Regions from separate parts of the Homo sapiens genome. Here all the other regions are linked to region 1. Evidence: promoter capture Hi-C in human tissues and cell types (Jung and others, 2019). All regions are on one chromosome and are shown on one strand. Each heading gives the region's core, a stretch centred on a gene start or on the middle of the fragment in contact. The rest is flanking DNA. Distances are from core to core; before and after follow the strand shown. Region 1 holds the start of NFKBIA (NFKB inhibitor alpha). Region 2 overlaps SRP54 (signal recognition particle 54). Region 3 overlaps RALGAPA1 (Ral GTPase activating protein catalytic subunit alpha 1). Region 4 overlaps FAM177A1 (family with sequence similarity 177 member A1).

The links. The method cuts DNA at HindIII sites, captures the fragments that hold promoters and counts their contacts. A contact is called where the count stands out against the background at its distance.
Region 2: a fragment that was not itself captured here is called in contact with the fragment with the promoter of NFKBIA in region 1 in 1 of the 25 tissues and cell types used here (lymphoblastoid cells).
Region 3: a fragment that was not itself captured here is called in contact with the fragment with the promoter of NFKBIA in region 1 in 1 of the 25 tissues and cell types used here (hippocampus).
Region 4: a fragment that was not itself captured here is called in contact with the fragment with the promoter of NFKBIA in region 1 in 3 of the 25 tissues and cell types used here (dorsolateral prefrontal cortex, liver and lymphoblastoid cells).

The regions. Positions count from the first base shown.
Region 1 is chr14:35,403,499-35,409,775 of GRCh38, forward strand. NFKBIA (NFKB inhibitor alpha) reads right to left here and starts at 1,251. Exons shown (of 6, transcript NM_020529.3): 1 at 920-1,251; 2 at 192-300. The coding sequence starts at 1,146. RefSeq lists enhancers at 1-52, 83-132, 1,237-2,108, 1,313-1,712, 3,690-3,749 and silencers at 333-922, 1,073-1,242. The HindIII fragment of the contact is 5,540 bases long and covers 1-3,771 here.
Region 2 is chr14:34,995,386-35,001,662 of GRCh38, forward strand. It overlaps SRP54 (signal recognition particle 54), which reads left to right. Exons shown (of 16, transcript NM_003136.4): 2 at 1,292-1,402; 3 at 4,173-4,264; 4 at 5,551-5,635. The coding sequence starts at 1,325. Among named protein-coding and RNA genes, the nearest start is that of SRP54, 16 kb to the left of the region's middle. The HindIII fragment of the contact is 6,797 bases long and covers 232-6,277 here.
Region 3 is chr14:35,800,576-35,806,852 of GRCh38, forward strand. All of the region lies in intron 1 of RALGAPA1 (Ral GTPase activating protein catalytic subunit alpha 1), which reads right to left. Among named protein-coding and RNA genes, the nearest start is that of RALGAPA1, 5.6 kb to the right of the region's middle. The HindIII fragment of the contact is 7,645 bases long and covers 85-6,277 here.
Region 4 is chr14:35,058,961-35,065,237 of GRCh38, forward strand. The region is part of intron 2 of FAM177A1 (family with sequence similarity 177 member A1); the gene reads left to right. Among named protein-coding and RNA genes, the nearest start is that of FAM177A1, 16 kb to the left of the region's middle. The HindIII fragment of the contact is 3,938 bases long and covers 1,679-5,616 here.

The DNA.
Region 1 (6,277 bases), core at 1-2,500:
CCAGGTGGGTCATAAAGACCTCACCAAATCAGTGGAATTTCCTTCACTCTCTAGGATGTGGGCTGATGTGAAGTAAAAGGTGAGGGTAAATAGTGCTCAGTGGCCCTGAATTCAGAAAGGATCTGGGGTGACTCTGCTACATCAGCTACGTCCCAGGGTCAGAGAGAACCCGGGCCAGGCAAGCGGCGCACCTGCTGCAGGTTGTTCTGGAAGTTGAGGAAGGCCAGGTCTCCCTTCACCTGGCGGATCACTTCCATGGTCAGTGCCTTTTCTTCATGGATGATGGCCAAGTGCAGGAACCTGTGGGGAAGAGAGGGAAAAACCCCAGGGGTGGTGAGTGCACCGCGTGGGGCCCAGGGAGGCGCGGGCTGCGGGGGATTGCGCAAGGCCGGGGTTTCTGGAGGCCGAGGCCGCGGTGTTTTCCGCGAGGTTATTATGAGCTGAGTGTTCCTGGCAGGCGCCCAGGGACTTTCCGCCCCCCTCCCCCCGCGGCCCCGGCGGGCGCCGGCCAGACCGCCCCGCCCTCCCGCCAGCTCGGAACGCCCTGTACTTCCCCTCCCGGCTGCTCGGCGCCCGCCAGCGGCCAGAAACTCCCGCCCCGCCTTATGCAACCGGGGACTTCGCGTCCCCGCTGCCGCCCCGCCCCCGGCCTAGAGGACGGGTCTGGGGGGAGGGGGCGTGTGGCGACGCTGCCATCCACCAGGGCCCAGCCGCCGCCCCTCCGAGTTGGGCCGGTGCCCCGCGCGGCCCTGCAGCCCTGCAGCGTTCGGGGCGGTGCAGGAGCCCCGGGGTGCCGCGGCGCCCGCCCGGCTGCATCGCTGGTCCCCCGGCTCGGGCTCCAGGCCCGGCGCCTCCCACCCCCAGGCCGCGCGCGTCCCGCCCTCCCGACGACCCCCAGCCCCGGGCCTCCGCCACTTACGAGTCCCCGTCCTCGGTGAGCTGCTGCTTCCAGGGCTCCGAGCCGCGCGGCACCTCCTGCGGCTCGAGGCGGATCTCCTGCAGCTCCTTGACCATCTGCTCGTACTCCTCGTCTTTCATGGAGTCCAGGCCGCTGTCGTGGCGGTCGTCCAGTAGCCGCTCCTTCTTCAGCCCGTCGCGGGGGCCCTCCATGGCCCACTCCTGGGGGCGCTCGGCCGCCTGGAACATGGCGCGGACGAGCTGCGGGCGCTGCTGCGGGTGCGCTGGGCCGCGGGCTGCGCGCTGCTTCCTCGCTGGGGCGCTGGCGGGCGGGACGGCGGCACGGACTGCTGTGGGCTCTGCAGCGCCGCCGCGGCGCCCTATAAACGCTGGCTGGGGATTTCTCTGGGGCGGGGTCAGGCTCGGGGAATTTCCAAGCCAGTCAGACCAGAAAAAGAGAACTGGCTTCGTCCTCTGCTAGGGGGAAAAAGAAGCCTAAACCCTGAGCTGGGGTTCATCGGAGAAACTCCCTGCGATGAGCCACTAGGGTCACGGACAGGGAACTTTTTGATGAGCGCCGAGTGGCTGGAAAGTCCTTCCGACCAGGCCCCCTCCCCCCGGTACTTCCCTGCAGCCTGCACCCTGTAATCCTGTCCCTCTGCAAGTGAGCCTTCTTTCCCTGGGGTTTCCCACGATCGATTTGAATTGGGGTCGTCGGCTGCTGAGATCCCAAGGACGCCGACCTGATGGGCGGTCCCTCTTTGGGGTTTGCCAACCTGCCGGTCCTTTCCGTTTTTTGATCTTTTGAAAACGCAAGAGTGGAAATGATGGCTGGGCGTAGGGATTTGCTTTCCCCAGACTTCTAAGGGGAAGGACGCACTGTGGTTAGGGGGCTGCAGGCCGCGCCGGTGTTTCTGCCTATACCAGGCTCTTTGCAGCAAAGGAACTTTTAGCTTCGCCCCCACCCCCCCACGCACCCCCGCCAGGTAGAAGTTGTGAAAGCTTTGGAGGAGTGAAAAGCCTAAATCCTTGGAGAACTCTCAAATCACTTCCTAGGGATGAACAGCCCTGTTGACTGGGGGAGGGGCAAACGCTCCCTGTATGGGGAAACTGCTGAATAGGACCATGATTTTTTTTGTTTCCCAAGTAAAGCAAGGTGTTAATGTTTGTAGTGGTGGTTGTGGATACCTTGCAATAGCAGAGTAGCTATTGTGTTCATAAGTAGCTATTCGTTTATGCTATCTGACCTACATTGTGCTCCCGCAGAAAAAGGATCGTGAGCCTACTTCTGGGCACCCAAATTCGAGGAGAACTTAGAGAAGGAGGCTGAAGAATGAGTTTAGTTAGTGCCTTAACCGCGATTGGACCTTAAGGACCACTAAGAAAGTAGTTGCCAGGCATCCTGCGGGAGGCTCAAGGTAGTCCCATCCTGCCCGCCCCTCCTTGCTCTCTTGTCCTGGGGGACAGTAGCAGTTGGACCCATTCACGCCACCTGGGTAGAAAGGGGTTTCGGCTCACTATGCTCTGGTTTCACCTGCAGAAATATAATTTATGCTCTCCACTCCACCTCCACCTCCAAGCCTGCAAGCCATGGACTGAATTCATCTACTTGGTAGAATTGGTACAGGCAAAATAAAGCAAACTTCGGTCAGAGCTCTTCAGAATTAGTCCCAGGAGGCCTCTGTAGTTCTGCAGAGATTTCTGGTGATTATTGCAATCATCTTTACCTTGACTGGCCTTGTACTAACCAATCCTTCCCCTCTCTTCGTATCTCCACCCCTCCCCTAATATTAGAATGAAAGAAATCTGACTCGATAGAGAGAGACCAAGTATGAAGGGAAAAAAATTAAAATCAGATAGACCCTCCAGGGTAATAATGATCACATGTTACAATGAAAACTTCCCAGGGATAGACACCATTGTCTCTGCAGGTTTATGATATGCAAATCTACAATGATTGAGGCAAGGTGAAACAGTGACTGCAATGGGACATCTCAATTCCAGGTTCTATCTTTACTTGACTGCACATTAGTTGGAGAGGTCAGTTAACTTTTTTGTGGTATACTTAACTTTTATAATAAGATTAGATTGAATGTTACTTAAGGTCTTTTCTAGCTTAAAAGTCATATTGCTTGTCTACAAATGCATGCCTAACTCTCCTTTGTAAGGGTGACCATGGCTCTTGGAAATGTCAGGGTATAAATTTTTGAAAGAATTCCAGCGCCTTATGTACCACATTGTTCTCAGAACTAATCTTGTAAGATAGATATTGTTCCTACTTCCCTAAAAAGAAACTGAAATGCATAGAAATTTACCCAGGAACCCCTTGGCAGTATATTAATCATTTGGCCAAAGCAGTCTTAGTATTAACACTTTTGAAAACACGCTGTGAAAATCAGACTGACTACACTATAATTTGGAATGTACTCAAAAGTATTTTCTACTCCAACTGTTAGGGAAAATAAAGGGTGGGTGTCCCCTGACCCCCATCTGGGGATAGTCACTTCTTTTAAACAAGTACAGAAACATCAAACTCTAAATGTCCCAATTATAGAGGATACATCAGAAGAAGATATTTGGCTTCAGGTATAAAAATGGTTATAAAAAATAAAAATATCTGAGGAATAAGGTTTTTTTGCACCACCTTCTATGGTTTTATATTTCTGGTAGCCTTCAGGATCTTGGTGTTTATTCCTGATTGTTTTGTGTGACACCTAGTGGTAAGAGTAAGGCACAGGCGTTCCTTGATTTGTCATAGTGCCTTTTGCAAAAATTGGGAGGTGCTGAGCCTTGATGACTTGTCCCTACAGTGGAGATTTCCAAGGAGGTACCTATTGTTTTCCTGCGACTCTGGGAAACAGTTTTGAATAATGTGATCCAACAGGTTTTCTCCCCATCATCTATAGCGCTATATGGTTTAAGTCAACAAACATTACAACGTGGGTGAAAAAGAATATACACTTGGAAATTAGAACCATGAGCAGACTGGGCAGAAGACAACAAGAGGGTCTGGTTTTGATTTAGAAAGACCTTTATGGGCCAGGAGTTGTGGCTCACTGCTGTAATTTCAGCACTTTGGGTTGCTGAGGCAGGAGGATTGCTTGCCACCCAGGAGTTGGAGACCAGCCTGGGCAACAAGGCTAAACTCTTGTCTCTACAAAAAATATAATTAGCAGAGTGTGGTGGCAGGTGCCTGTAGTCCCAGCTACTCCAGAGGCAGAAGTGGGAGAATTGCTTGAGCCTGGGAGGTGGAGTTTGTAGTGAGCCATGATGGCACAACTGCACTCCAGCTTGAGCAACAGACTGAGACCCTGTCTCAAAAAGAAAAAAAAGAAAAAGAAAGACCTTTATGGACCCTTCAGCACTCAGATTTTTCTCCTCCTCATTGTCAAACATTCTAGCTAACATAACCGTTAAAAAAAATGTTAAAACTGTAGGCTGTGCGCAGTGGCTCACGCCTATAATCTCAGCACTTTGGGAGGCTGAGGCAGGTGGATCATGAGGTCAGGAGTTCGAGACCAGCCTGGCCAACATGATGAAACCCCGTCTCTACTAAAGATACAAAAAATTAGTCGGGTGTGGTGGTGCAGATGCTGCTTAGGAGGCTGAGGCAGGAGAATCACTTGAACCGAGGAGGCAGAGGTTGCAGTGAGCCGAGATCGCGCCATTGCACGCCAGCCTGGGCAACAGGGTGAGACTCTGTCTCAAAAAACAAAACAAAACAAAACAAAATACTTTAGATAACTGATTTTTAATGTTATTTGGCCTTTTTAATGCATAAGGCAAAATAATAAGTTACACCTCAAAGCTGCTTTGTATTTTGGCCCAGGACGCAGCCGTAGGAAATGACAGGACGGCCAGTGATGCTCCAGGAGCACCCCCATGGGAAAAGGAGCATCGCCAGGGCCTGGTTTGGCTGCAGGCACTTCAGGCACTCCTCCTGCATGGAACAAGCACAGTATGGACAAAACCTATTGCCTGAAGTGCCATGGAGAGAGTCTACAAGTTCAGCCAGGTGGTCCAAAATCCTCAGGGCAGGGTGGCCTGTGTCAACTGGCCTGGCCAATTAAAACTAAATTGTTTTGGCTACAGCAAATTCAACTCTGGAATCAGGCTACCTATTGCTCAGTGCAGCTAGGCTGGAAGAAAGACGAGCCATGACAGAGTTCCTGAAGAGCAAGGCAGGTGCACTCCCAACTGGCAGCCCCACTGTGAAATTCTAAATATTCTGCTTTCAGTCTCAGGTTGTCTTCTTTCTTGCTATCGTGGTAGCAACTGTCTGCATCCTCTTCAGAACAGGGAGCCCCCAAGCTATGGATCTTTTCCCATAGAAAAACAAGGCTGGGGGCGGTGGCTCCGACCTATAATCCCAGCACTTTGGGAGGCTGAGGCGAGCTGATCACCTGAGGTCAGGAGTTCAAGACCAGCCCGGCCAACATGGTGAAACCCCATCTCTACTCAAAATACAAAAATTAGCCAGGCGTGATGGCACATGCCTGTAATCCCAGCTACTCGGGAGGCTGAGGCAGGAGAATCACTTGACCCTGGGAGGTGAAGGTTGCAGTGAGCTGAGATCGTGCCATTGCACTCCTGCCTGGGCAGCAGAGAGAGACTCTGTCTCAATTAAAAAAAAAAAAAAGGAAAAACAGCTGTCAGAACCTTCATTTGTAGTGAAGTGAAAATAAGACCGTCAAATCCTTAATGTGTTTCCTTTGCTACAAATTCTGCAATTTAATGGAGATCAAAGCTTTAAAGGATCTCAAACTCAAAATACTTACGCATAGGGAGCAGGCAGATTTCACAGATGAGTGAAACAGACCATTTGAGTCTGAAAGGAGTGGGATCTCCAACAGCTTAGGTCAGGGTGTGTACTTCCCTCATACTTAGCTCAGACAACTTTTGGCATGTAGCACCTTCAGTTCAGTAGTGACCTTCTATTGTTAAAGAAATAAAAAAAATTGGCCCAGCTCCGTGGCTCATGCCTGCAATCCCAACACTTTGAGAGGGTGAGGCAGGAGGATCACTTGCGTTTAGGAGTTTGAGACCAGCCTGGGCAACATAGTGAGACCCCATCGCTATAAAAATAAAAATAAAAAAATTAACCAGGTGTGGTGGCATACACCTGTAGTCGCACCTACTTGGGAGACTGAGGTGGGAGGATTGCTCGAACCTGGGACGTTGAGGCTACAGTGGGCCATGACTGTGTCACTGAGCTCCAGCCTCAGCAAAAGAGTGAGACCTTGCCTCAAACAAACATAAAAACATTATGAAAACTAAACACAATGCATTTCTGCATCTATTGGCTAAACAGAGCCTATAAGCTCTGAGTTTACAACCTCTTTTTCAGCCAAGGTATGATGTTTTAATTGTGCTTTGCAAG
Region 2 (6,277 bases), core at 2,380-4,879, 410 kb before region 1:
AGGCTTGAGACCCACAAAGAACCAGTGTTTCAGTTTGAAGGCAAGAAAAGCTGATGTCCCTGTTAGCAGTCAGACAGGAGGAATTCTCTCTTAGTGTTTATTTTAGTGTTCATTTGTGTGCCTTGTCTTACCAGCTAGTAGGTAAGCATCTTGAGGGCAGGGACTACAAATCATATTTGCTTGTTTATCATCCATAAGCCCTTGCATCCTTACAAGTAGTAAGTACATCTAATATGTAATACTTTTATAAAACAGTAAGATTTTAGAGCTGGAAAGGGTTTTTGACTCTTAGTTAACTGAAACAGAAAGTCTGTTGCATGTGACTATTTTTTGGAAGAACCAGGATCAGAATTTTATTTTCGGTTCCTCATCAAGGGCTTTTTCTAATAATTCTTATTAATAATAAATGATAACTTAAATCATTATCCTATTTTAGAGTTTTCCTGGAATCAGAAACAGGTTTAAAATGGGAAGAGAACCAGCCTTGGCAACATAACATAGTGAGACCCCGTCTCTACAGATAATAAAAATTAGCTGGGCATGGTGGCATGCACCTGTGGTCCCAGCTACTTGGGGGGCTAAGGCAGGAGGATTTCCTGCGCCCAGGAAGTTGAGGCTGCAGTCAGCTGTGATCACACCACTGCACTCCAGCTTGGGTGACAGAGTGAGACCCTGTCTCAAAAAAAAAAAAAAAAGAGTAAAATAATATACCTCTTTCCTTTGTGGTTAGAAGAATAAAATGAAATAATGTATGTGGAATCACTTAGTATAGCGCTTCGATATAGCTGATAGCTGAACAGTTGCTTTTTTTGTACTAGAAAAGTTATTAAAACCTTTTTTCTTTTTTTTGCTTAGGAGCAAGAATCAAAATAGTTTGCAGAGTCCTTTAATGTGGGAAATTAGGCAGTATTCCTGGAGATTTCACCTTTTTCTCCTCTTTTAATTTAAAAATGTGCATGATACATAATTCAGTTATTCATAAGTATTGTGCCAAAAAAAGAACATATTTAATGTGAGATTATGTCATTATTTCCTCAAAGTATGGTATTTGACATGTTAAATTTGCTGATTCATATACAAGATTCCAATTAAGTATTCAAATATAAGGCATCATAACCAAGTAGCAGTTTTATCTTTATGACATGACTGTATTTAAGCACAGGTTGAGGCTATGGAAGGTGATCTTACAGTATCTAAACACTAGAGTAATTTGAACTTAAATACTCTTTAGAACTCTTCAGTCATGGGAAGTGAAATTGATTATTCTCACTTAATTTTTTTTCTGCTGTAGAGTTCTTCGTAAGTACATCTTAAAGCTGTCAAGATGGTTCTAGCAGACCTTGGAAGAAAAATAACATCAGCATTACGCTCGTTGAGCAATGCCACCATTATCAATGAAGAGGTATGTAAAATATTGTATGAAATATATATGATTGTATATTGTCACTAGCATTGGGAAGATGGCTTATTCATAATCCCTGTATTTATATGTATTTTGATGTAGACTTAATACTTGTAGATAAAAGCCTAAAAGTGGATACAGTAAGTAGTGTTTTATTGAGAAATTAACTACAACTTCAAATTTACTTCAACTTTCTATAAAGAATTTTCCAAAAAAAAATCGAAAAAAACCTGACCTTAACTTACATGTAAAAATAACATATTTTATCTTTTGAAAGTGGCTTAAATCTGGAACTGTACTTTTGTTTTCTTTATTGATATAGACCTAAAATTTCATTACTCTGCTTCTTTCTTCTTGGCTAGGCCTGTGCTTATCTGTCCTTTTCTTTGTGACTTTTATTTAGCATTTTTATAAAAGGCTAGCATTTCCATCTTGTCTGTTTTGATTCATTTTCTTTGAAATCTTCAGTTTTTTGGAGATTTTGTAAGCCACTCCTTAGATGATATTAAAATACTTTTCTTCCCGGCTATATTATTTTAAGATATTTCTTTGTTCCATTTGTCCCCCACAGATTGTATCTTAGTGGTTTATTAATTGAAAAAGTTGACTGTGGTTCACAAGTATACTTTATATTTTGTATCAACAATGGAAAAGTACTGAATTTGGTGTTAGAAGACATTGGTTAGTCCCACTGTAGCTATTTAGCAGCTGTACGATGTAAATTGGGGCAACTAAACCTTAGATTCCTTAGTGTATAAAATAGGAAAAATAGCATTTACCATAGAAAATGGTTTTAAGTTTCAAATAAACTTTCTAACTTGGAGGTTAGAAAACTTACGTAGAATTCTTACATGGAATTTGATCTCAATACTAAGCTAACGGAATTAAATAATTTTGAGACCATCTTAGAGATCATTTAGTTCAGCCTCTTATTTAACAGAACCAAAGTCAGTTTCATGTGATTATTTATTTGGAAGAACCAGGATTAGAACCTTTTTTTCCTAGTTCCTCATACAGGGCTTTTTCTAATACTGCTTATTAAAAAATAAATCATAACTTAAATCATTGTTTGGTCTTGTAATTCCAAATATATAAAACGACTTTCCAAACAGTTTTCCCTGTTGTGTAGCCCTTATGTTCTTTGTGTTTATAGTAGAAAGGAAAGGAAACCAGGGGAGGAGTTCTTGGTGGGAGGTAGAGTAACAGCTGTTGCTTAAATTGGCAGCTTCTCTGTTCTTGATACTGTGCTGCTAGCTAATTAACAAGGAGAAAGCCCTCTAGTGAAAGATCAGTTCGAATTTTAGCAGACCCGTTTAATGAGGGATAGAGAAAACTGGTAAGCCTCTCTCTGTAGGGCATATGAAGTGAGTTGAAGGAGAGAGAACATTCAAGAAATATTTGAGGGCCTATGTTTTTGCAGACATTTTTGCTGGCACCAGAGATACAGCGGTGAACAAAATAGACTAAAATTCCTAACCTCATAGAGTTTACATTCTAGTGTGTGAGCACTTTATATACATGAGTGGCTAAAGCCTCATCTTTTCTTAAGACTTTTAATTTTATGACCTTTTAACTACAGTGCCTTGCAATTCAACAAACATATGATGATAATAAGTTATTAATGGAGAGTAGCCTCCTTTCCACCTGTATTCTGCTGCTCTAATAAAAATGACAAGACTGGGTAACTTCCTTCTGTCACATTTACTTCCATAATTGTCCAGTTTTTAAGAAAAGCAATATTAAGCCGGGTGTGGTAGCTCACACCTGTAATCCCAGCACTCTGGGAGGCTGAGGCGGGCGGATCACCTGAGGTCAGGAGTTTGAGACCAGCCTGGCCAACATAGTGAAACTCCATCTCTACTAACAATACAAAAAATTAGCTGGGCGTGGTGGCAGGCGCCTGTAATCCCAGCTACTAGGGAGGCTGAGACAGGAGAATCTCTTGAATCTGGGAGGCGGAGGTTGCAGTGAGCCGAGATCACGCCATTGCACTCCAGCCTGGGCAACAAGAGCGAAACTCTGAAACTCTGTTCCAAAAAAAAAAAAGAAAAGCAAATATTGTAACTATATACCACTACATAATAGTGACAGGAGCTCTTCAATAAAGTAGAAAACATCAAAGGCAACATCTATTTGTAGTAACTTTTTTTGGCTTGAATATTGTCTTTATTATTACTTTGTGTGTATGTGTGTGTGTGTGTGTGTGTGTGTGTGTGTGTGTGTGTGGTTTTTTTTTTTTTTTTTTGAGACAAAGTCTCACTCTGTCACCCAGGCTGGAGTGCAGTGGCACTATCTTGGCTCACTGCAGCCTCCGCCTCCCGAGTTCAAGTGATTCTCCTGCCTCAGCCTCCTGAGTAGCTGGGATCACAGGCACGTGCCACCATGCCCAGCTCATTTTTGTATTTTTAGTAGAGATGAGGTTTCGCCATGTTGGCCAGGCTGTTCTTGAACTCCTGACCTCAAGTGGTCTGCCCACCTCGGCCTCCCAAAGTGTTGGGATTACAGGCGTGAGCCACCATGCCGGGCCTATAATTACTTTTATATAGGAATAAAATTGTGGCAATTAATACTTGGGTGTAAAACTAAATGGGGTCTCTTATTTTGACAAAATGACTAAACATTTAATAAAATTATCTCTCCAAGAACTAACTGAAAAACCCAGTAGTGTGGTATTACTAAGCTGTGGTTATGTAAGTGATCAACAATTGTTTTTATGGAACTGAAATGAAACATTGGGTGCTTTAAATTTCATTTATTTCTTTATTTTCAGGTATTGAATGCTATGCTAAAAGAAGTCTGTACCGCTTTGTTGGAAGCAGATGTTAATATTAAACTAGTGAAGCAACTAAGAGAAAATGTTAAGTAAGTTAAATCAATCAGGTAAAACACAGGCACAGTTTAGTTTAGTTTACTGGAAAGAGGTGCTAACTGGAAGTGTTTGCTGTATCAGGAATCATTTCTGCTCTGCACCACTGGAAAAGTGCTGTGTTGGAGCTCATATGTTGGGCGAGAGCATGTGTAGTACGTTTCCATAATGATGGTTCAAAGAATAAACTACATGTGATTTTCATTTAATTACATATTTTTTTCTATTTTACTAGTCTTTTATTTGAATGGATTTGATTAAATACTGTATAGTATTTTAATATATAAAGCCTTTTAACAATTCAGGCTCTTCATAGAAAAGTACTGCCATTTTATTCTTTTTAGGCTTAAGATGATCTTAATCAACCTTCATTATTGGAGGACTGTATTCTCTTTTGTTCTCCTTTTGGTTTCTCTGTTTCATATTTGAATGAAGAATTAATGTGTTTGGTCTCAGTTATCATATTCATTGGGAGAGGCACTGAGTTGGTAGGACACACAGAGCAATACAGGTAGCTCAGTTAACTGCTTGAGTCTTATCTCTTACCATGCTTTAGACATCTCTCCTTGTATTGTTAGACTGAGATTAGTTGTGGGACTACCAGCATTTAAGCATTTAGACATAGAGGAAGTAGCCGGGCGCAGTAGCTCACGCCTGTAATCCCAGCACTTTGGGAGGCTGAGGTGGGTGGATCACGAGGTCAGGAGATCGAGACCAGCCTGGCCAACATGGTGAAACCCTGTTTCTACTAAAAATACAAAAAATTAGCCGGGCATGGTGGCACACGCCTGTAATCCCAGCTACTCAGGAGGCTGAGGCAGGAGAATTGCTTGAGCCTGGGAGACAGAGGTTGCAGTGAGCCGAGATCATGCCACTGCACTCCATCCTGGCTGATAGTGAGACTGTCTCAAAAAAAAAAAAAGAAAAAAGAAAGAAAAGAAATAGAGAAAGTAGTCCTGATTTCTGTTGTAAAGATATATAAAATATATAAGCTGCAAGAAAAGTAAATAAAACTAGTTCTTTGTGGTAATATTAGGACAAATTTATATTTATACTTTCAAGTGTAATCCTTGAAAACCAAAGTCTTGCATCTAATACTTCATGGGAAAACTCTTTATGATATAGACTTACGAGTCTGTAGTAATTACATGCATGTTAATTGGAAGACTATTAATATGAATGACTGAATGTTGTACATTCTTTGGAGCAGAAGCTTCTTTTTCTTAGAGTTTCTTAACTGATTTTCTCCTCCCCACCCCAATCACCAACCACCATCATAAAGGTCTGCTATTGATCTTGAAGAGATGGCATCTGGTCTTAACAAAAGAAAAATGATTCAGCATGCTGTATTTAAAGAACTTGTGAAGGTAAAAGTATATGAAGATTATGCTGTGATTCTATACTCAGTGGATAAAAAAGCGTTAGCACTACAAATATTTCAGAATTTTTAAATATGTTTTTTATGGAATATTCATCTGTATTAAAATATTAATGAAAGGATTATTGAGTTTTCTTAGGGACCTTTTTTTTTTTTTTTTTGAGAAGGAGTTTCACTCTTGTTGCCCAGGCTGGAGTGCAACCTCCGCCTCCCGGGTTCAAGCAATTCTCCTGCCTCAGCCTCCCGAGTAGCTGGGATTACAGACGTGCACCACCATGCCCGGCTAATTCTGTATTTTTAGTAGAGACGGGGTTTCTCTATGTGGGTCAGGCTGGTCTTGAACTCCTGACCTCAGGCGATCCGCCCGCTTCGGCCTCCCAAAGTGCTGGGATTATAGGTGTGAACCACTGCACCTGGCCAGGACCTATTTTTATTGTAGACTTTACTGAATATACATAATTCTGAGTGCAGATATGAAAGCTAGTACTATTCCTGCAAAAAATGCCAAAGCCAAGATGCGATGAGTGAAATTTCACTACAGATTTGTTGATGGAAGGGCCTAAGTTTTTCCTCGTTCACTATCATGTTTTGCCTAGTGATGGTCCTGCTTTTGTATGGCAAAGTCACATAT
Region 3 (6,277 bases), core at 2,657-5,156, 400 kb after region 1:
ATGCTAGTTAGGGGAAAATTTTTTATCACCAAATGCCTACAGTAGAAAGAAGAACAGTTTCAAATCAATAATCACAGCTTCCCTTTATGAAACAACAAAAAGAGCAAATTAAACTAAACTAAGTAGAAGAAAGAAAGTAACAAAGACTGCCAGGCATGGTAGCTCACACCTGTAATCCCAGCACTTTGGGAGGCCCAGGCTGGTGGATCACTTGAGGTCAGGAGTTTGAGACCAGCCTGGCCAACAAGGTAACAACCTGTCTCTACTAAAAATACAAAAATTAGCCAGGCGGGGTGGCGCATGCCTGTAGTCCCAGCTACTCGGGAGGCTGAGGCAGAAGAACAGCTTGAACCTGGGAGGCGGAGGTTGCAGTGAGGCAAGATTGCGCCATTGCACTCCAGCCTGGGCGACGAGCGAAACTCTGTCTCCTGCGTCCCGCCTCCAAAAATAAAAAAGAAAATAGCAAAGACCAAAGCAGACATCAATTAAAAAAAAAAAAAAAACCACACACACACGGAAAAATCAATAAAACCAAAAGATAGTTCTTTTAGAAGATCAATAAAAGCGATAAGACTCTAGTCAGGCTGATCAGGAAAAGAAAGACAAATTATCAGACAAGAAACGAGAAGGATAACATTACCATGGGTCCTGCTATATATATATACACAGACACACACACACACACACACACACACACACACACACACATTTGAGATAGAGTCTCGCTCTGTTGCCCTGGCTGGAGTACAGTGGCATAATCTTGGCTCACTGCAACCTCTGCCTCCTGGGTTCAGGTGATTCTCCTGCCTCAGCCTCCCTAGTAGCTGGGACTACAAGCATGCGCCACAAGGTCCAGCTACTTTTGTATTTTTAGTTCACACAGGGTTTCAGTATGTTGGTCAGGCTGGTCTCGAACTCCTGACCTCTAGTGATCCACCCGCCTTGGCCTCCCAAAGTGCTGGGATTATAAGCATGAGCCACCATGCCTGGACATGAATCCTATAATATTAAAAGGATAATAAGAGAGTATAATCAACAATTTATACCTATAAATTTGACAACTTAGATGAAATCTTCTGTTTATACCAACAGAAACAGAAAAAGCATTCAATAAATCCAACATCCATTCCTGATAGAAACCCTCAGCCAACCAGGAATAGAATGAAACTCTCTAAATCTGATAAAGGGCATCTACAAAAAACCTACAGTTAGGATCATATTATACAGTGAAAAAAATCAATCGATTGCTTTACCCCTAAGATCAAGAACAAGACAAGACTGCCCACTCTCATTACTTCTAATCTATGTCACATTGGAGGTTCTAGTCACTTCAGTAAGGCAAGAAAAAGAAATAAAGGGCATCCAGATTAGAAAGGAAGAAGTAAAACTGTATTTGCAGACTGATTCTCTATGAAAAATATCCAAAAGAATCTACAAAAAACTAACAGAACTGGCTGGGTGCTGTGGCTCACACCTGTAATCCCAGGACTTTGGGAGGCCAAGGCAGGTGGCTCACGAGGTCAGGAGTTCGAGACCAGCCTTATCAACATGGTGAAACCCCGTCTCTACTACAAACACAAAAATCAGCCAGGCTCAGTGGTGTGTGCCTGTAATCCCAGCCACTCAGTAGGCTGAGGCAGGAGAATTGCTTGAACCTGGGAGGCGGAGGTTGCAGTGAGCTGAGATCATGCCACTGCACTCCAGCCTGGGCAACAGAGTGAGACTCTGTCTCAAAAAAATAAATAAATAACAGAACTAAGTCAGTTCAGCAGGTTTGTAGGACATAAGCTCACTATACATAAATCAGTGGTATTTCCTGATATGAGATCCAATCAGAAATAGATATAAAGGTAACATTTACAAAAGATCAAAGTAGAAAGTATTTAGGTATAAGTCTGACAAAAGATGTATAAGACCTGCACACTGAACTACAAAACACTGCTGAGAGAAATTAAAGAAGTCCTAAGTAGGTGGAGAAACGCCTTGTTCATGAATCAGTGTATTCAATATCGTCAATTTTCCCAAATTGATCTATAGATTCAACATAATCCCAACCAAAATCCCAATAGGTTTTTTGGTGGTGGTGGGTTTTTTTTTTTTTTAAGAAACTGACCTTTAAAAAAAAAAATACAGTGTCACTGTGTCACCCAGGCTGGAGTGCAGTGGTGCAATCATGGCTCATTGCAACCTCGACCTCCCAGGCCCAGGTGATCCTCTCACCTCAGCCTCCCAGGTGACTGGGATCCCAGGCACACACTACCATGCCCAGCTATTTCTTTTTTTTCTCTTTTTTGGAGAGATGGGGTTTCAGCATGTTGTCCAAGCTGGTCTCAAACTCCTGGGCTCAAGCAATCTGCCCACCTGAGCCTCCCAAAGTGCTGGGATTACAGGTGTGAGCCACCACACCAAGCTCAACTAATCTTTAGACTCATATGGAAATGTAAAGGACCTGGCATTTGGGAAAAAAAGAAACTTTGAAAAGGAAGAACAAAGTAGGAGGGACAACACTACTTGATTTCAAGATTTATTATAAAGTTACAGTAATCAAACACTGCGGTACTGGCACCAACAAAGATAAACAGATCACTGGAACAAAATAAGAGTCCAGAAATAGGCCCACACATATTTCTGGAAAACTAAATTTTGGCAAAAGTACAAAGGCAATTCAGTAAAGATAGCCTTTTTCAACAAACAGAGCTGGAACAACTGGATATTCACATGCAAAAACGTAAACTTCTAGCCACCTCATACCATAGTTAAAACTCAGATGAATCATAGAGGAAAATAGATCCTAAAACTGTAAAACTTCTAGAAAAAAGCATAGAAGAAAATCTTTGTGATCATGGGTTAGGCAAAGATTTTAGATACAAAATAAAAAAAATAAATTAAAAATTGATATATAGACAATAAAAATTAACCATTTCTGCTTCTTCAAAGAAACAACTTCTTCTTCAAAGAAAACTTTAAGAGAACGAAGAGACAGCCCAAAGACTGGGGAAAAAAAAATCTTTGCAAATCATGTGTCTCATACAGTATCTGTATCTAGAATATATAAAGAACTTTTTTTTTTTTTTTTGAGACAGTCTCACTCTGTTACCCAGGCTAGGGTGCAGTTGCACAATCTTGGCTCACTGCAAACCTCCACCTCCCAGGTTCAAGCAATTCTCCCATCTCAGCCTCCTGAATAGCTGGGATTACAGTCATGTGCTATCACACCTGGTTATTTTTAGTAGAGATGGGGTTTCACCATCTTGGCCAGGCTGGTCTCGAACTCCTGACCTCAAGTGAGCCACCTGCCTCAGCCTTCCAAAGTGCTGAGATTACAGGCATGAGCCACTGCACCTGGCCTAAAGAACTTTCAAAACTGAATTAAGAAAGCAAAAAAATTAAAAGACATGTAAAAGATTTAAACACAAACTCATCAAAGAAGTTATACAATGGTCTTGGGAGGCCGAGGTGGGTGGATCACCTGAGGTCAGGAGTTCAAGACCAGCCTGGCCAACATGGCGAAACCCCATCTCTATTTAAGTACAAAAATTAGCCAGGCATGGTGACACCCACCTGTAATCCCAGCTACTTGGGAGGCTGAGGCAGGAGAATCACTTGAACTGGGGAGGTGGACGTTGCAGTGAGCCAAGATCAAGCCACTGCACTCTAGCCTGGGCGACAGAGCGAGACTCCATCTCAAAAACAAACAAAAAATTGTGAATAACGGCTGGGCGCGGTGGCTCACACCTGTAATCCCAGCACTTTGGAAGGCTGAGGCTTGAGGATCACGAGGTCAGGAGTTCAAGACCAGCCTGGCCAACATGGTGAAACCCTGTCTCTACTAAAAATACAAAAATTAGCTGGGCCTGATGGTGCACACTTGTAATCCCAGCTACTTAGGAGGCTGAGGCAGGAGACTTGCTTGAACCCGGGAGGCAGAGATTGCAGTGAGCCGAGATCGTGCCATGGCACTCCAGCCTGGGTGACAGAGTGAGACTCCATCTCAAAAATAAATAAATAAATAAATAAATAAATAAATAAATAAATAAATAGTGAGTAACTATTCAGAAATAAAAAGAGATTAACAGTTAGGTACAGTGGCTCACACCTGTAATCCCAGAATACTTTGGGAGGCTGAGATGGGAGGATTGCTTGAGTCCAGGAGCTTGCAACCAGCCTGGGCAACATGAGACCCCATCTCTACAAAAAAAAATTTTTTTTAATTGGCCATACACGGTGGTGCATGTCCCAGCTACTAGGGAGGTAGAGGAAGGAGGATCGCTGGACCCTGAAAGGTCAAGGCTGCAATGAGCCACGTTTGCAACACGGTACTCCAGCCAGAGTGACAGAAGACCCTGTCACAAGAAAAAAAAGCAATGAACTATTAACATACCAGGATACAGATTAATTTCAAAATAATGAGGCTGAGAAAAAGAAACCAAGGCCAGGTGTGGTGGCTCACGCCTGTAATCCCAGCACTTTGGGAGGCTGAGGCAGGCGGATCACGAGGTCGCGAGTTCAAGACCAGCCTGACCAACATGGTGAAACCCCATCTCTATTAGGAATACAAAAAAAAAAGGCGGGGCGCCGTGGCTCATGCCTGTAATCCCAGCACTTTAGGAGGCTGAGGCGGGGGGACTGCCTGAGCTCAGGAGTTCGAAACCAGCCTGGGCAACACAGTGAAACCCTGTCTCTACTAAAATACAAAAGAAAAAAAAAAAAGAAAAAATTAGCCAGGCTTGGTGGCGTGCGCCTGTAATCCCAGCTACTCAAGAGGCTGAGGCAGGGGGATTGCTTGAACCCGGGAGGCGGAGGTTGCAGTGAGCCGAGATCGCGCCACTGCATTCCAGCCTGGGTGACAGAGTGAGACTCCGTGTCAAAAAAAAAAAAAAAAGAAATCAAACATAAAATGACCGTACTGCATAATTCCATTTTTATGCTGTATAATCCCATTTATATAAAACTCTAGATAATGCAAACTAATCTAGGGTGACAGCAGATTAGTGGTTGCTCAGGAAAGGTGGGAGGGTACAACTGAGGTGGGAGAAAGAGATTACAAAGGGGCATGAGAAAACTTTGGGAGGTTATACATACATACATATATATATTTTTTCTTTTTCTTTTTTTTTTTTTTTTCCTGAAACGGAGTCTCGCTCTGTTGCCCAGGCTGGAGTGCAGTAGCGTGATCTCGACTCACCACAACCTCTGCCTCCCAGGTTCACGCGATTCTCCTGCCTCAGCCTCCTGAGTAGCTGGGACTACAGGTGCACGCCACCATGCCTGGCTAATTTTTGTATTTTCAGTAGAGTAGAGACCCGGTTTCACTCTGTTGGCCAGGCTGGTCTTGAATTCCTGACCTCGTGATCCGCCCACCTCGGCCTCCCCAAGTCCTGGGATTACAGGCATGAGCTACCGCACCCAGCTGATTATACATATATTATCCTGATTGTCACTGTCTATATTTGTTATCTTGATTGGATATTTTAAATATTTGTTATGATGGTTTCAGGAGATATACATATGTAAAAATTATTCAATTATGTACTTTAAATATGTGCAGTTTATTGTGTGCCAATTATACCTCAATAAAGCTGTCAGAATTATTTAACAATAAATATTTTTAGCTAAATAAGCACTTTTTATTTTTATATCAAGAGGACTGAACTGTTAGCTGTAAAGTAGAACAAAACTAACACTAAGTCAATACCCACTATATGCCAAGCATTATGTTAGCCAATTTACATGTGCTAATTTATAATATCATTACCATTAGTTGTAAAATGGGGGGGAGGGGGTAGGTAGAAAGGATAACAGCTTTAGAAATCAGACAAGGCTTTTTTTTCTGTTTTAAGAAAACCCTGACTTCTAGTTTTTACAAATCAATTATGCAACAGTATCAATAAACATACCAGATTTAAATCTAAATCTTCAGAGTCAAGTTCTATAAATTTAACTTGGATTGTCCTACAGTGGGAACACATGCCAGGAAAAAAGTTTACAGCGGATGTTTAAATTATGATTATGTTCTCATACATATAGATGCACTGAATCCTCCCATAAGTACCCTGAGTGAATGGCAGTTCTGTTTGGTCCCATATGAACTATGAACTATGGGACCAAACAAAAATCAAAAGCCTGTGTAACTGGCAATGCCCAATTACTCTGCAAACTAGTTTCCTCATTGTGTTTACCTTATTTAAAGCCCGCACCTACTTCCAGAAAGGATTTTCCATCTGCAAAATCAAATACCTGATTGGCAGACCTCTAAAAGACACTAGTTTTTGTCATT
Region 4 (6,277 bases), core at 2,398-4,897, 340 kb before region 1:
GGAGTCACTCTGTCGCCCAGGCTGGACTGCAGTGGCATGATCTCGGCTCACTGCAAGCTCCGCCTCCCGGGTTCACGCCATTCTCCTGCCTCAGCCTCCCGAGTAGCTGGGATTACAGGTGCGTGCCACCACACCCAGCTAATTTTTTGTATTTTTAGTATTCACCATGTTAGCCAGAATGATCTCAATCTCCTGACCTTGTGATCCACCTGCCTCGGCCTCCCAAAATGCTGGGATTATAGGTGTGAGCCACCACGCCTGGCCAGTGTGAGCTTTTTTATAGTTTGTTTTGTATATCTTCTTCCATCCCTTTTACTGTGAATCTGTTTGTATTTTTTAATCTAAAGTATCTCTTGTAGACAGCATATAGTTGGATCTTGTTTTTTTTAATCCAATCTAACAATCTCTGCCCTTTGATTCAGTTGTTAATCCATTCATATTTTATGTTGATTTAGTTGGATTTACATCTGCCATTTTACCTTTTATTTTCTATGTCTCATGTCTTTTTGCTCCTTTCTTTTCTACTGTTATCTTTTGGATTAAGTGAATATTTTCTACAGAAGCATTTACATTTCTTTTTTTTTTTTTTTTTTTGAGACAGAGTCTCACTCATCGCCAGGCTGGAGTGCAGTGGCGCAATCTCGGCTCACTGCAACCTCTGCCTCCCAGGTTGGGTGATTCTCCTGCCTCAGCCTCCCGAGTAGCTGGGATTACAGATGCACGCCACCACGTCCTGCTAATTTTTGTATTTTTTAATTTTTGTATTTTAGTAGAGACGGGGTTTCACCATGTTGGTCAGGTTGGTCTCGAACTCTTGACCTTGTGATCCACCTGCCTCAGTCTCCCAAAGTGCTGGGATTACAGGCGTGAGCCACCACACTCCACCAATTTTGTGTTTTTAGTAGAGACAACCAAGCTGGTCTTGAACTCCTAACCTCAAATGATCCACCTTCCTTGGCTTCCCAAAGTGCTGGGATTACAGGCGTGAGCCACTGCGCCTGGCTGTTTTTTTTGTTTTGTTTTGTTTTTTAAGATGGAGTTTCACTCTTGTCGCCCAGGCGGGAGTGCAGTGGCGTGATCTCGGCTCACTGCAACCTCTGCTTCCTGGATTCAGGTGATTCTCCTGCCTCAGCCTCTGGAGTAACTGGGCTTACTGGCATGCACCACCATGCCCGGGCTAATTACTGTATTTTTGGTAGAGACTGGGTTTCACCATGTTGGCCAGGCTGGTCTGGAACTCCTGACCTCATTTGATCCACCTGCCTTGGCCTCCTAAAGTGCTGGGATTACAGGCATGAGCCACTGCGCCTGGCCAGTTTTTGTTTTGTTTTGTTTTTAATAATTTCTGTCTCTTTTTTGATACTCTCTGCTTGATGTGATACTGTTATACCTTCCTTTATTTTTAATTTATTATTTTCTTAGGTCTTCAAACATATTTATAAAAGCTATTTGAATTTTTTTTTCTGTTAAATCCAGCATCTTGTCAGTCTCACAGGTATTTTTTGTTGCCTGATTTTTTTCCCTATGTATGGGTCATACTTTTCTGTTTCTTTGCATGTCTCATAATTTTTTGTTGGAAACTAGATATTTTAGATTATATATTATAGCAACTCTGGGTACTGTGCCCCCATATCTTGTCATTGTTATTTGCCTGTTTATTTGTTTAGTGACTGCTGTGTTCTTTTAGTGAAGTCTATTCTCCACTCCTATTCTTTCCTGCAAATTAGCTAGCCTATAGTTTAGCCTGTATTTTTATTAAATCTAAGAATCTTCTCCCAGTTACAGTAGTCCCCCCTTTATTTGTAGTTTTGCTTTTTGTGGTTACCCATGGTCAGTTGTGCTCTGAAAATATTAAATGGAAAATTCCAGAAATAAACAATTGATAAATTTTAAGTTGATCACCGTTCTGAGTAGCATCATAAAATCTCATACTGTCACACTTGGTACCTCCTTCATCAGAAGAAGGGTGCATACAGTACAACATGATATTTTGGGAGACCACATTCATATAACTATTATTACAGTGTATTGTGATAATTGTTCTATTATTAGCTATTGTTAATCTCTTATTGTGACTAATCTATAAATTAAAATTTATCATAGGCATGTGTATATAGGAAAAAACAGTATAGGGTTCAGTATTATCCGCAGTTTCAGTCACCCATGGGAGGTCTTGGAACACAGCCCCTGCAGATAAAGGGGGACCACTGTACATTTTGCTACAATCTCCAGTGTTTTTGAGAACACCCTTAGCCTTGGACTTTTCTAGGTGTGTTGCAAATGAAGTCAGTTCCTTTGGGAAGAGATTAGGAGTTGTCTGCTTTGTTTCCTGTCCTGGCTGGCTCCCCTACCCCAGCCCCGCCCTTCTGCCTCTCACTCAGGGCAATCTCTGAGCCAAGGTTTTGGAGCTGGGGGTGGGGACAATGGCTCATTTCTGTCTGAATAACACCTTCACTTTAGGAGCTGAGCATTTATGGGAGGTGGGGTCAGTAGCTTTAAGTATTTTTTTTTTTTTTTAGTCTTTGTTTTACAAATGTCTATTTGTTTTTTTCTCATTTCTTTTTTTTTTTTTTTATCTCACTCATAGATGGGAATTGAACAATGAGAACACATGGACACAGGAAGGGGAACATCACACTCTGGGGACTGTTGTGGGGTGGGGGGAGGGGGGAGGGACAGCATTAGGAGATATACCTAATGCTAAATGACAAGTTAATGGGTGCAGCACACCAGCATGGCACATGTATACATATGTAACTAACTGGCACATTGTGCACATGTACCCTAAAACTTAAAGTATAATAATATTAAAAAAAAAAGCTGTAAGTATTTTTGACTTGCCTCTGCTGGCGTAGAACTTGCCTCTGCTGCCTTATGAACTGGGTAAAGGCGATCAGGGCCCTGGTGTTCTCAGTGGTGCCATGCTCAAGGTAGAGCCTCCATTCTGTGAGCAGAGGCTGGTGGAAGAAGAGAGTCACCCCCTGTCAACCACACTTACCTGGAAATTGGCCTCAGTAATAGATGAGAAGTGCTGGTTAATATTCTGTTCCTCCTGAGAAGAAAACCCAACTGGAAGCTGAGGGGAGGGGGAACCCTGTATTCTTGGCTGTACCAGTCTGAAGTGCAGTTTCTGCCTTCCTTTGCTGGGAGGGTGCTGAGAGGGAGTGGTCTTAGTTCAGTTACCACAGACGTTTGCTTTTGTTACCAAATTTTCATAGATTTTCTTGAATAGATGTTTATTCATTTATATGCCATTAAGACCATTTCCAGGTGCTTTAAATGTTTATTCTTTAATAAATTTCATCAGTTTTACTGGGAAGTGGGCCCAGAGTTCCTCATGCTGTTATGATAGAGGTCTATATCCACTATTAAGGTCTTTAATGACCATGTATATAGCATATTCATGTTGGAATTTCCCTGAGTTGTGAAGCCCAATCCAACAGATCCCTGGGTGATAAGAAATCTTTTTATATTTTCTTCACTGAGAGGTACCATGAGATGTCAGAAACTTGGTTTTTAGTTCTGGCTCTGTCCTGTAGTAGTCACCTTGCTTTGACAAAGACTTAACTTTCATTGTAGTTAAAGTTCCATGATTACAAAGAAGAGAGATAACTTGCCTCACCTACCTGTAGTTGTTTTTAAAGATTAAATGAGATAATATCTATGAAAACTCACTGAAAAGTGACTTGGCTGAGCACAGTGCCTCATGCCTATAATCTTTGCTTTGGAGGGCTGAGGCAAGAGGATTGCTTGAGCCCAGGAATTCAAGGCTGCAGTGAGCCATGATCATGCCACTGTACTCCAGCCCGGGCAACAAAGTGAGACCCTGTCTCAAAAAAAAAAAAAAGAAAAGAAAAATATATGGTAGTATTAATTAATAAAGCAAATATAGCAAGTAGCACAAGAAATTTTATTTGCGGTTTTTTTTTTTTTTTTACTTAAGGTAATTTTAGAACTCGATTTGAGATTGAAACCCCATAACTTATTTTTTAAATTTTCTCTATAGTTCCTATTTAGTATCATTTAAAAAAAAAAAAAGGTCGGGTGCGGTGGACCACGCCTGTAATCCCAGCACTTTGGGAGGCTGAGGTAGGCGGATGAATGGCAGGAGAATGGCTTGAACCCGGGAGTCGGAGATTGCAGTGAGCCAAGATCGCGCCACTGCACTCCAGCCTGGCAACAGAGTGAGACTCCATCTCAAAAAAAAAAAAAAAAAAAGATCTAGTTCTATATTCAGATTTTAGTATCATTTTAGAGTTTATAAAATTGATTTATGACTCCAATTTTTAAATATCAATTTTAAAGCTTTAAAATTATATTTTCCCTTTGGGGCCAGGCATGGTGGCTCTTGCCTGTAATCCCAGCACTTTGGGAAGCCAAGGTGGGTGGATCCCTGAGGTCAGGAGTTTGAGACCTGCCTGGCCAACATGGTGAAACCCCGTCTCTACTAAAAAAAAAATACAAAAAATTAGCCAGGCATGGGGGCGGGTGCCTGTAATCCCAGCCGCTTGGGAGGCTGAGGCAGGAGAATCGCTTGAACCTGGGAGGTGGAGGTTGCAGTGAGTCAAGATCCCGCCATTGCACTCCAGCCTGGGCAACAAGAGTGAAACGCCATCTCAAAATAAATAAATAAATTTTCTCCATAGTTCCTATTTAGTGTCATTTTCTTTTTGAAATAACAAATCTAGTCCTGCACCCAGATTTAGTATCATTTTAGAGTTTATAAAATTGATTTGCTTTATGATTCCAATTTTGAAATATCAAGTTTAAAGCTTTAAAATTATATTTTTTCTTTTGGGCCACATTACATGGCTCTTGCCTGTAATCCCAGCACTTTGGGAGGCTGAGGTGGGCAGATCACTTGAGGCCAGGAGTTTGAGACCAGCCTGGCCAACATGGTAAAACCCTGAAACTCCATCTCTACTAAAAATACAAAAATTAGCTGGGCTTGGTGGCACAAGCCTGTAATCCCAGCTACTCGGGAGGCTGAGGCAGGAGAATCGCTTGAATCCAGGAGGCAGAGATTGCAGTGAGCAGAGACCACCCTACTGTGCTCCAGCCTTAACCACAGAGCGAGACTCTGTCTCAAAAAAAAAAAAAAAAAAAAAATCCCTTTTGGTACTTCATGCCTTTAAGAGTGCAATGGGCCAGGTGCAGTGGCTCACACCTGTAATCCCAGCACTTTGGGAGGCCAAGGTGGGCAGATCACTGAGGTCAGGAGTTTGAGACCAGCCTGGCCATCATGGGGAAACCTCGTCTCTACTAAAAATACAAAAATTAGCTGGGCGTGGTAGCATGCACCTGTAATACCAGCTACTCGGGAGGCTGAGGCAGGAGAATCCCTTGAACCTGGGAGATGGAGGTTGCAGTGAGCCGAGATCGAGCGACTGCACTCCAGCCTGGGCAACAGAACATGACTTTGTCTCGAAAACAAACAAACAAAAAAGTACAATGATTTTTTTAGGCAATATGAGCTGTTACTGTACTGTCAGTTGGTAGCTTTATGTTATAACTCAGCCTGAAGCTGAGAGAGGACATTTTACTTGAATTCTAAGTAAAATTTTCACAGAAAAACCTAATAAAGTTAATGAAGAATTTATACTTAGGAAATGTGACTATACATGTTGACTAAATTAACCGAGATAGAATAATAATTACTTAAGTCTTTAGCAAAAAGAGATACAATTTATTTCTCTGATTTTTTTTTTGAGATGGAATCTTGCTCTGTTGTCCAGGCTGGAGTGCAGTGGCGCCATCTTGACTCACTGCAAGCTCCGCCTCCCAGGTTCACACCATTCTCCTTGCCTCAGCCTCCCGAGTAGCTGGGAATGCAGGCACCCGCCACCATGACCAGCTAATTTTTTTGTATTTTTAGTAGAGACAGGGTTTCACCGTGTTAGCCAGGATGGTCTCGATCTGCTGACCTCGTGATCCGCCCGCTTCAGCCTCCCAAAGTGCAATCCCAAAGTGTAATCCCAGATTACAGGCGTGAGCCACCGAGCCGGGCCTATTTCTCTGATATTTTTTATAGCTGCCTGAATTGCAAATGACTTCATCTGGTTAATTTTTTATGTACGCTCATGTTAATATTAGTCTGTCACCATATTTTTTTTTGTTGTTTTTTAATGCTGTAGCTTAATGTAGAATTACATTCATAAAGTAAACTTGCTGGTGGTTTTATTTCCCTTAAATAACTATAATATTTTTGGAGGGAAACTTTTTTTTTTTTGAGACGGAGTCTCTCTCTCTCTCGCCCAGGCTGGAGTGCGGTGGTGCG